Regions from separate parts of the Homo sapiens genome. Here region 1 is linked to region 2. Evidence: promoter capture Hi-C in 16 types of primary human blood cells and fetal thymus (Javierre and others, 2016). All regions are on one chromosome and are shown on one strand. The core of a region is centred on a gene start or on the middle of the fragment in contact, and the rest is flanking DNA. Distances in the headings are between cores, read along the strand shown.

Region 1 (5,731 bases), core at 2,444-4,943, 4.5 Mb before region 2:
GGGGGGGGGGGGTACATGAAGCGCGAGGTCTGTGGGTGCCCCTGTGTGAACCGCGGCTACATAGGCATCTTTTATATAGATTATATAACACAGAACATATGTGTGTGCACAGGGTGATGTCTGCGCGACAGGGAAGGCGGGAGAGATGCCACAGTCCAGATCGCCTACCTGTGCTCCCCTCCCCTCCCCCGGTTTTCATCTAGATTTGGGTTTTCTCGCTTGGCCTCTCCCGCAACCGGAGTGTGAAAGGCAGTGGAGGGAGGACCTTGTCTCCTGTTGCCTTTAACCCTCTCCCGCCCGCCGCCCTTGGCCCTGGTCCTCGCTGTCTCTCCATCCCTCGTGTCCTTCCTTTCTCCTTGCAGCGCTCCTACTTCACCGTCCTCCTCTGTCTGCCGCTCCTCAGGCGGATGCCCCCTTTTTAGTACCCCTTTCCCCACGCGGTTCCCTTTCCGGTTTCATAGAGAGACCGGGTGGGAGGGAGGAGGGGACAATGAAAACAGTAATAAATGAATGAACCCGAGCGAGTGGAGCCACGCCATTATTAAGTTTCTGTTTTACGGAAACGCCTTTTGGACACACTTCTAATTCTGTGCGTAGCTGCTGATTGGAGTTCAGGCACACAGATTAAAAGCCCCTCCGTCTGCAGAGTCCTTAGGGGCTCTTCCCTAGGAAACTAATAATCAGGGAAAACACCTTTCTTGTTTACTGTAGTCCCCCCGCCAGACCTTTTGAAAATCCCTGTGTGGGAGGCGATCCAGTGTCACCTTGCAATATTTAACAGAGGAGGGTGTGCTCATCTCGCTTCTTGTAGACAGGGTTGTGGCAGAGGCATTCCTCTCCTCCCCTTAACTTCGGGTCTGGCGATCTGTAAAGTTCAAGCCCAACGCACCCCGGAGCTAGGCAAGGGGCCGGCAGCCCGGGGGATGGCTTGACCGGGGAGGGTCGGGCCGCAGGGTCTCCCGGGAGCCGGGGGATTCCGCCCGCCGCGTGCGCGAGCGCGCGTGCCCCGCGCCCTCCCGCCTGCCCTCTTCAACTGGAAACCAGAAACGCCGGCGCGCCTGTGGCCTGGGCGGGTTGGTGCAGTAGGAGCTGGTGCCACGGGGCCGCAGCTGCGAAAAGGGGGTTTCAACTTCCTGTCCTCCAGCCCCCTGGAGTCGCCGGCCAGTGTCGGGAGGCCCGGCCGCCGCTTCCTTCTCCTCCCGCCCGGCCGGAGCGCGCCCACTCCCAGCTTCCCGCGGGCTGGTCCGGGCCCCAATGGCCATTTGCGGCGGCTGCCGGGCGGAGCCCGCCTCCTGGGCCGCGCGCACCGGCGGGGCAGGCCTGCTTGGGGTGAGCTGCGGCGTGGCTGGTGGCGGCGGTGGGCTAGGGGCCCAAGGGCCGCGTCTGGCCCGAGCCGGAGCCTAAGAGGCGGGGACGCGGGCCGCTCGGAAGGACTGGAAGTGCAGCAGCCACACAGGCACAGGGCTGGTGCCCTCCCGGGCCGCTGAGGCCAGGGGGTGCAGGGGTGGGTCCGGAAGGAGGTTGGACACTAAGGGTCGAGACCGCAGATAGACCTCGGCGTTTCGGGGCAGCCGAGGCCCCTCGAGCCCCACCGCCCGGGGTCCTTCTCTGGATGCACTTCCTCCTCCCGCTTAGGGGGTGGTGCTGGAGGCGGGGAGGGGGCGGTGGCCGGAGCCGGCGGGCGCCGGAACCGCGCTGCTGGCTAGCCCCGGGCCCGGGTCTTCTCCGCACATGTTTGTCATATCCTCCAGCCGGCCTGTTCGGGCCCACAGTCCTCCCGCATTAGCCTGTGTGGTCAGTGTGGTCAGCATTTGCTTCTGTGCCGAATCTCTGACTTGCTGCGTCCTGGTTTAACCTGCTCTTCCGGAGTCCGCTTTCCCTCGCTTTGCTGGCTGACCCCATTCACTGTACGCCCGCCATTCCTAGCCCACTGCAGTCGATACTGCCTCTTATTTACTTGTTGCTTTTTCTCTGAGGCCACTTCCTAGGCCTGCTTCAGGTACCATTTCCCGCCTCTTCTCTCCATTCACTCAGTACTGAGCCAGACAGGTCTCAGCCCTCGTGGGACTGAAAATGACAAAAATGTGCCAACGTATCTACTCCTGTTAGGTTCTGACCACTGTTTCCTCCTAGTTCTTTATCTGTACCTTTCTTCTGGCAATATCCTTTACTGTTATATACATGGTTATTAACTTACAGACCATCAGCTCTTCAGGTTACGGTTCTTGTCATCCCACTCTTGATTCTGCAAAGCACCTAGCAGAGTGCTTTGCATAAGGCACATTCTTGAGAAAATGTCCAGTGAGTTGAAATGGTGATTGGTGCCCATTTTATTGCCAGCACTACTCGTTAATACCCGAAGGTTAACAGGCTAGAACTTGCATACCGTGGCAGAGTCACATCTTGGGATTTTTCCCTTCCTGGCTTCTGCTCTCTGTTGATGTTATGTTCTTAGATTGCTTATTGCAGTCAAAGAACCCTGCTGGCTGTTACCCCTCCCTTGCAACTCTTCCTGACCCTAATTGTCTTACTTTCATGTTTTTTTTTAAATGCCAGATTTTGTGCATTTCTCCCAATATCCCAGGGTGCCCAATTTTATCTCTCCTCCCTCCCCAAAAACTGTACAGCCAAAAAGACTTTAAACACTTTTTAAAATTTAATTTTATTAGCCGGGTGTGGTGGCTCCTGCCTGTAATCCCAGCACTTTGGGAGGCTGAGGTGGGTGGATTACCTGACGACAGGAGTTCGAGACCAGCCAGGCCAATATGGTGAAACCCCATCTCTACTAAAAATACAAAAAAATTAGCCGAGCGTGGTGGCGGGTGCCTGTAATCCCAGCTACTCGGGAGGTTGAGGCAGGAGAATTGCTTGAACCCGGGAGGTTCAAATTAAAGCTTTTAGTTTTTATTTTTAATAGAATCCAGCTAATGCAGGACAAAAAGTCTTGAACCAGATTTTCTTTTCACTCCCTTTTTAATAGGAGAAGGGAACTCCATAACCAAGGCTTAGACCCTCTTGAGGAGAGAGGAACTTGAGGAAACCATAAAATCTTACCTTTTTCAGACTCATTAACTTAAAATGGTTTGAAATAGCTTCTGGAGGAAAAACATGATATAGTGAAGCTTCTACTCTGTCTTTTGGGAATTTATGGTTGTCCTTATAAATCTCTTCTTAGTAACAGGCAAAACTTGTTAATTTAGAGAATTAAAACATCCTCTCTCAAAAGTGAACTACATTGGCTTTTGAAGAACTGTGAGAATGGCCAGGAGTAGTATTTTGCCAGTATGCTGCCTTTGCTAACTAGCATCATTTAAGAGGACCTAAAATAAGAATACTTTATTAAACATACGCTATAATCCATACTTACTAACCATAGCGCAAATTAATGTTAACATACCCTATAATCCATACTTACTAACCATAGCACGTGTTAATGGAATGGGGCCCGACTTTTGGAGTAGCATTTGTATAAACCCTAAAGGGTTCAACTGAGGCTAGTTTTCAAGTTTATTGCTGCTTTAATGAATCATTAACCTCATACTCATTGGCCTAGCCATGAAAGTAAATACTGCAGACTTTTTTTACTTTGCTAGCAAAAAGTTTCATATATAATAGGTTAGAATAGCAATTGAAATGCAAAGTAATAAGTGTATTCCCTTGTAGAATCATCCTGGGCCTCATCTTGAAACTACATGTCCAGTGAAAAATATCCTGTCTGGTTATATTATCTGGTCAATGAGAGTTTATTACATGAGGTAGAGAAAAATGTCTGCTCATAGGTCCAAATAGGAGTTTTGAATTCTAATTTTCACTGAAAAGTCCTTGCAATTTTACAACATTGAAAATAGAGACATTTTGCTCTTTTATGAGATGTCTGGCCTTTACCTGTTTTTCTCACTAAGAGCTGACTTAAGTTGGAAGTGCTGCTAGCCAGGGAGCAAAATCACCTGGTGATTGCTAAGGCGACATATAATTCATTGAGTGAGAAGGGAAGCTGGGCTCTCTCTGCCTTCTCTTTCAGCAGCCTGCCAGGTTTGTGCTAACAGCAGTGGATGCTAGTTGCTCCAGTTGTAATTGTCTAGCCAATGATGATTATCTTCTGATGTCGGCTGACACGGTGCCCACCAATAGGAAAGCAGGAGGCCTGTGCTGACTGCTGTAACATTATGTATGTGAGGTGACGTCTTCAAAGGGCTTGCCTAGAACTTCATGAAACCCTCCCCCTCTCCTGGCATTCTCCACACATCCAGCCTTTCAAAGCTTTATATATTTTTCTGACTTTTCTCCCCACTCACTCCCTTGGTGGTGTAAAAGGGTTTACTTGTTTTAACATTTTGTATTCTGTATTATAGAGTCTATAAGATAGTATAGGAATTTTAAGAATTAAATGCTGTTCAGCTGAGGAAGCCTTTTTATTCACAAATTTGTTTTTACCAAAGGTAAAAATGGAGTGAAACATTTTATTTTATTTTGTTTTATTTTTGAGACAGGGTCTCACTCTGTTGCCCAGGCTGGAGTGCAGTGGCACAATCTTGGCTCACTGCAACCTCTGCCTCCGGGTTCCAGTGATTCTTATGTCTCAACCTCCCAAGCAGCTGGGATTACAGGTGCCTGCCATGACACCAAGCTAATTTTTGTATTTTTAGTAGAGATGGGAATTCACCGTGTTGGTCAGGTTGGTCTTGAACTCCTGACCTCAAGTAATCCGCCCACCTCGGCCTCCGAAAGTGCTGAGATAACAGGCTTGAGCCACTGCAACCGGCCGTGAAACATTTTAAAAGGAGTTGTACATCTATATCTTTTTTGTAGGTGAAGTTTGGAAAGTAACACGATGTACAATTTCATGATTAAAGAACATAAAAAGCACTAAAAACCTGTGTTAGCATTTAACTCAAATATAGCAGCATAAAAAATATAGCAGCATAATGTTAATGAAACTGTTCAAATGCAGACATAGTATTTGGCTGTTGTTTTTCATTTAGTGAGGATTGCTTTGAATTGCTTCCTGAAGTCTTCCTTGCAACCTTCTACATTCATTTGTAAGAAAAATGGCTGGAAAACAGTGCATCTGTGACTATGGAACAGAGTAGGCCAGAGTTTCATTTCATCATTAACATTGCAGCAACAAATTTGGTCAGCTCTGTAGGAATATAGTGTGTCTATATTGTACTCATGTCACTTGCTGTTTATTTTGAGGTATCACAGTTCATATTGATTTAGGATTAAAACTTGTGTGAGGATCATAACATGACATTCAATAATTTTTAGAAAGCACTGGGATGTAGGCATATGTACTAGGTTAAGAGTGAGAAGAATGAGAAAATACATAGAGAAAAAACGTGTAATCTGTGTGGGGTCCTAGAAAATAATGTAAAGTTGTGCTGGAGCTTTGATATGAACTTTCATGTATCTTTTAATAAATTATAAATATTCATGCAATTCTTGTTTAGGATTCCAAAGGATGAAAGCCAGCTTAATGCAAAATATTTTATGATTATATTATCCATCTGTGTATTTGTACTAGTTATAATTAGTGCTTAAAATTTTTTCATGAAGTCTTTTTCACATTGGAAGTAAAATTTTGTGATCTTCAGAGGATTGCCTGTTGCTTTTTTGTTTGAGGGTGATTCTAAATGTGTCAAAGTGTATAACATTGGAACTTAATGAAACTTTTCAAATGCAGACATAGTATTTCACTGTTGTTTTTCCTTTAGTGAGGATTGCTTTAAAT
Region 2 (6,416 bases), core at 3,406-5,905:
TGCACTGGATTAAATTCTTTGGCAATTCTTTCCTGATTCCTTTCATTGGCTACTCTGCAGATGTCTCAGTGACCCACAGCTCAGTGTTTTGCTCTCTGCTCAATCCACACTCCATCCTTCGAATACTGGCTTTCAAACTTTTGAGCATGCCACACAATTAGGTATATATTTTATAATGTAACACACAATACACTGAATAAAATAGAAACAAAAATGTCATGAAGCAATACTTATCCTACAATATGGGATAAATCTGATATTTTTTACTCTGTGCTTGTTTTTTTAAATGCTGGTTGTTACTCATTACATTGATTTCCTGACTCATTAATGGGGCACAACTCACAATATGACAGCACTGTTCTGGGTGATCTCCAGTGCCATAGCTTTAAATATGATCTGACTCTTACATGTATATCCCAGCCGTATCTTCTCCTCTAACTCCAGACTACTATATTCTACTTGACATCTCCATGTGGATGTTTTTCTAAACCTGCTCCCCTTCCCTTCGTGTTCTACTTCCTGGTAAAATGGCAACACCAATTACCCAGATGCTTAGGCCAAAAACTCAAAAGTCCCACTCAACTTCTTTTTTTCTCTCTCTCATACCCTGCCATCTCTACCTTTGAAGTATATGCTAAATCCAACTCCTCAGCACCTCTACCACTACCACCTTAATCTAAGTCATCGCCAGTGCTTACAAGGACTACTGCAAAAGCCTATTAACTATTTTCCTCCACTTTCCATAAAACAGTCCATTCTCCAACAACAGGGTGATCCTTAAAAACATAAATCAGATGTCTCGTGCTCAAAACCATCCAATGGCTCTTCAGCACACTCAAAATAAAATCCAAATTTCCTATTATGGCCTATAGGCCTACTGTGACCCTAGCTATCCCTTTCTGACCTCATCTCTTATCCTTCTTCACTCCCTTCCAGCCATAGCTGTCCTTGCTGTTTTTGGAAGGTGCCACTTGAGAATATTTGTACTTGCTATTGCTTTGCCTAGAATGCTTTTCTCCAAGAGATTCACAGGGCTTGCTCCCTCATTTCATTGATTTTTCTGCATAAATATTAACTCAGAACAGCCTCTCCTGACTGCCTGAATTGAAAAAGCACACCCTAGCCTCTTACCTAGCTTCCCTTTTTCTTCATAGCTCTTATCACCTAACACTATAACATCTCCAGTGCTTAATGAACTGAAACTTTAGTTCAAGGAATGAATGTACATATATGAATGTCAGAAATCACTGTCTGAGAGTATTATTAATAACTTTAGTCTTGGTACAATGTGTATCTCATTCTTCATGACACCATTCTTTCTTTTCCAAATTAATAACTCTATTTTAAGGACCAACTAAGTATAAATTAAAATGAAGAAATAAGATCACCTTTGTGAGGTGAATCGGGAAAAGTATAAATGGAATCTAACCAAACTCATAAATAAAGCAAGCACAGAAGTTTTTATGTATACTTATATCCAGGGCAAAGGAACTAAGAATCTTAACTAGATTCCATACATGTGCCTAGCAAGAATATTTATAAAACAAGAATTATAAAGTAATAGATTAGAGCCGAGACTGTTGAGCCAGACCACCTGGGTGCAAATATACTGGTTCTGATTCTTAGTAGCTATAAAAAACTTTTCTGCATATCTGTTTCCTCACTTATATAATAAAATGGAGACAATAATAACTGTACCTACCATGTAGTGTGCCATACAGAAAAAAGCTTGTCACATATTAAGTCCTTAAATAAATACTAGCTACTATTATTTCTTTATAATTTATAACCAAATTCCTTATCAACTGGCACTATTAAAATATGCAAACCTTGATGGGCAAAACCCAAATTATGGTTTATATTTTCAAGCTTCTTTCCATGAAAGGTAAAGGATTTATATTGATTGAAAAGTTTTTCCCAACCAAATACTGAAAAAAAACATATTTGTTACTGAGGCTGAAAGCCAGGGAATCATGAAATGGTAAAATATAAACGTGAAACCCTTAATCCATGTGCATATCAACCTATTGTACAAAATAAGAAGTTCAACACAGTTTATAAGTATGAAAAATCACAAACACTTACTTTTCTTAAAGATTAAAATTTAAACCTGCCTAAATTCTCTCCTACATCATATGTTCAACATTTTGAATTTTATAACTTATCTTGTGTTTTATGCTTTTCATAAAACAACAGTATTTGGCTGAAAATTGTACCCTATTTTATTACAATAATATAGATTTAACCAAAACAAAACAAAACAAAAAAACATGCCCCTCAACAGATAGATAGCAGCCAATTACCTTAAATATTTAGGGTCAAAAACGATAAGAAAAACACTGAGATTTTTTCAAGCTCATTAAATACGTAATATGGGATGCAGTTAAGTCCTAGAGAACAAAAGCCAGTGATTAAAATTAGCTGTTTTCTTATCTGGTAAAGAAGTAGGAAAAGTTTTTAAGTGAAAAGCTTACAGTAACCTTAGCCACAAACGAAGTGTGTAATCTCTCTGGAGAATCAGGGAATCATCTGTTGCCATGGAGTCATAATGCCTTCAGCTAAACCCGACCTCATAATTAACAGTGATCGACAGCGCAAATGGCTAACATGTTACCAAGTATGAAATAAAATTACTGAATTTTCACAGCAAACAATACCTGTGCTTGTTTTAATCTAAATGGTTTCAATATCTGCATTCCAAGTATTTATTCTTTGTTAGAAAAGCTAATTGGATACTCAGTATTTATTTTTATTTAAAAATCACAGATGATGAAACAAAAGCTACAAGTAAAACAAGTTTAAAAAAACAAAAACAGGCCGGGCGCGGTGGCTCACGCCTGTAATCCCACCACTTTGGGAAGCCGAGGCGGGCGGATCATTTGAGGTCAGGAGTTTGAGACCAGCCTGGCCAACATGGTGAAACCCCTCCTCGACTGAAAAAAAAAAAAAAAAAAAAGGAGCCGAGTGTGATTGTGGGCGCCTGTAATCCCAACTACTCGGGAGGCTGAGGCAGGAGAATTGCTTGAGCCCGGGAGGCGGATGTTGCCATTGCAATCCATCCCCAGGCGACAGAGCAGGACTCCAGCTCAAAAAAAAAAAAAAAAAAAAAAATTGATGGGCCCACTACTACAGAAGCTCAAGTTTGAGCTGTGTTTAAATTAAAGCAAAAACACGTAGAAGTGCAAAGTATATAAAATAAAAAGAAATGATGATTCTCAAATCTCATTGACCTTTTCAGTCTTATTTTTGAAGTGAGACCTCACAAAACGATACTTTCAGGTGTAATACAAACACAATTTTTAGTAATGAGTGTGCTTAAAGCAATCCTCTCAGTGGTGTATGCTCCCCATCAGGCAGTTAAAAAAAAAGAAAAAAAAACCCGCATAGCTTAATGTTTATTAAATATGACAGCGAATCACTTAGTTGTGTTATAACAGTTTATTATCATGGATTTAAATGACTATGTTTACATGTTTAAAATTATCACATCACTAGTTCTTGCTAGCTTTTGCATTTTCTCCTGTAAACATTGTTTTTACAGATAAGCTTAGGTAAAATAGAAATACACCACCTTCTTTATCAATAATGTAGCACACAATATATTACTAAAGCTGGCATTTTCTTGATATTCAAGAATTTATGACAAGGAATGGGATCCTGGCATTAAGAATAAAGGGGAAAAAAACAAGTCATCTCATCCCAAAACCAGGTAGAAAGTTGGGATGGGAAGTACGTGTATTAGCAAACGTTTTTGAAACCAAAGCAACTTTCATGCAAATTAAACTTTCTATAGAAGTTAAAAACCCAAGAGATACTGCTGTGATGACAAAACATAAGCAAATGGCCCCAAATGAAGCAAGTCCTTTGGAGTAAATGTTAAGTAGTATTCACATAGAACTGCTTTCTGCAATCAGGAAGGGCTGGAATGGAAAACTCAATGCCAAAGAGAGAAGAGAAGTTAGTGTGACCCAAGAGGTCTTGAAGTAACACTTAACAGCAAATATCAAACCACCCCAACCAACGCCTCCAACTGGAAGCTGCCCCATTTCTCCATCAGCAGAGGAAGACATGAGGGACTGGCTAGGGGGAAACTGGGAAACGCGTACTACCGAGAAGCCCAGAGCCCTCAACCCGCACCTTCAGCAGGAGTGGCCAAAAAGGAGTTTGAGGCGGCCCCAGGGCGGGAGAAAAATCAGGACGATGATACCACGCCCTTGTCCTTCCCACCCTTCCCCCGCATCCTCAGCCCTGCAGACCCCCGAAGAAAAGACCAGTTCTTAGGGGGTCGCGGAGGCTGAGAAGCCGGCGGCCCGAGCGCCCTCTTTACCTGGTCGCAGAGGCGCGGCCAGGCAGGGAGGGTGCGTGAGCGTGTCGGCGACCTGGGCCGCCTGCGCCTTCCCGCCCAGTCCGAGCTGGAATTCCAAGGCTGCCTCTGGGAGCTGCTGCCCGCAGACCACTCGCCTCCACAGACGCCAGGAGAAAAACGACAGCCACCTTATGTGGAAAATACTCGCGCCGGCCGTCATTCATAATCCGGCGGACCGGAAAAAGGGAAGTAACGTCACTTCCTACTGTCGCACTGCCAAACGTTTCCCCCGCCCCTACTGTGGGAACCTTTGTTTTCCTGCTTTCGGAGCCGGCCAGTGCGGGAACCGTTTCCGAAGGGACCACCGGGAACAGACGGATCGGCAGGGCGGGGCGGAACGGTGAGTTATGCTGAGCGACTCTGCTCCTGGCCTCCTGGAGGCTCGAGACCCCCGCGCCAGGAGCGAGGTGGGAGAGTAGCTACGTGGGGTATTAGTTTCCTCGCTCCTCAAGGGGAATCATAATTTACGGGCGGTTGCGTGCCCTAGACTGACTGCTCTCCCCTTTCAGTGAGGACTGTGCTTCCTCCGAGGGAGTTGCGGGCCGGGACATGCGGACCGAGCATATTTCTAGGTCTAGGGACAAGGGACTTGGAATCCTGCCTCGGACTTTGTCGGAGGGTTTTAGTGACTTCTCTACGTAGCTCCCTCATTGTCTCTCATCTTTTGGCTCCCCTGTCAAGGACCATCCCCCATTCTAGGACTTCGATGTGTGATGCTTTGATCAAAGGATTGACATTCCTTTTCTAAGTGTTTGCTGTCAGCTTTCAGCCACTTGATTGGTTTGGAATCGGAGCCTTTTCTCCTGCGATTCCAGGTGTCCCTAAGGTATCAGTGTTATCCAGAACCAAGAACTCAGTGGAGGAATGAAAAAGGCAGCATCTTTAAAATAATGTTTATTGGAAGGGGTTGCAAGAGCTTGCGAAGTCATGAAGAACAAAGTTTTTTAGAGCCATTATGAAATGGCAACGATAATACTGCACTCTATGTGAACAGTTTCTGTTTCCTTCATCTGGGGCACGTGCATATGATCAACTTTGGACTTCTTTTGAGATTGCCAGGTAGGGTGAAAAATGGATCTAGGAGAAAGCACATACTTATATTTATATATGAATGCCCAATTTAGACTGGAGAGATCACAGAAGCCTTATAAGGTGACATTTACGCAAAAAACCTAGTTCGTTCATTCGATAAATATTTTTGAGCCCTTATTAAGTTTCAAGCACTAGGGAAATAACAGTGAACAAAACAAGTTCCTGCTGTCATCAAGTTTACAGACCAGTGGGATTAATGAATTAAGCAAGACAGGCGAAAGATTGTGAGAATTTTACAGATAGGAACATTGTACTACAAGTCCCCAGTCGTGAAAGAGGTGATTGCTTTGCTTTTGCTTTTTTGATGTTTGGAGTTTTTTTTGTGGGGGCAGGGGTGAGTTACTTTTGTGATTTTTGCTGAAGGGACCTTGGAAATGGCTACAATTGTGTAGAAGGAGAGATAAGACCACTATACTTTGATCACTTAATTCCAGTAATTCTATAGCCATTATTTTGTTGTACTTTGCAAAGTGGCAAAGAGATAGGCAAAAAGATAAATATAGACTCTGCCCTTAAAGTACTCAGAGTTTTGTAGGGGACATAACACTTGTGCCAAAAAAAAAAAAAAATGCTTCAAGGGAGAAAGTTGCAATACCATGAAAAAGCACTATGAGATATCCTTGAATGGAGAGACTATTAATAGGGTTTGGAATGGAGAGGGGCACAGCAGCTGTCAGTCAAATCTTCATGAGAAGTATTTGAATAGGGTCTTGATAGGATGTAGATATATAAAAATAGGTAAAGAGCTTCCTGGACAAAAAAAATAAGAGTGGCAGGGTCAGCTAGCTATAAGGCAGATCTGGGGATGATGAATGATAATTTTTGTGCCAGTTACTGAATCTTCTTAAATGCTAGGCCAAGAAATTTGGTCTTTATTTCGAAGGTGGTAGAAAGCCCTAACTTCTCAGCAAGAATTTTTTTTTTTATTTTAATGAAAAAGAAGAAAACTGGGTTTCAG

The links. The method cuts DNA at HindIII sites, captures the fragments that hold promoters and counts their contacts. A CHiCAGO score of 5 or more calls a contact.
Region 1: a contact is called between a fragment that was not itself captured here and the fragment with the promoter of INTS12 in region 2, in 1 of 17 cell types (fetal thymus). The highest score is 7.2, in fetal thymus.

Annotation. Positions count from the first base shown.
Region 1 is chr4:110,192,356-110,198,086 of GRCh38, reverse strand. The region is part of intron 1 of ELOVL6 (ELOVL fatty acid elongase 6); the gene reads left to right. Among named protein-coding and RNA genes, the nearest start is that of ELOVL6, 3.4 kb to the left of the region's middle. RefSeq lists silencers at 806-1,435, 1,636-1,745 and an enhancer at 1,480-1,774. The HindIII fragment of the contact is 1,138 bases long and covers 3,125-4,262 here.
Region 2 is chr4:105,706,928-105,713,343 of GRCh38, reverse strand. INTS12 (integrator complex subunit 12) reads left to right here and starts at 4,655. Exons shown (of 8, transcript NM_020395.4): 1 at 4,655-4,706. GSTCD (glutathione S-transferase C-terminal domain containing) reads right to left here and starts at 4,560. Exons shown (of 12, transcript NM_001370181.1): 1 at 4,328-4,560. It overlaps LOC124900747 (a long non-coding RNA gene), which reads right to left. Exons shown (of 2, transcript XR_007058214.1): 2 at 5,248-5,443. RefSeq lists an enhancer at 4,331-4,580. The HindIII fragment of the contact is 4,662 bases long and covers 3,549-6,416 here.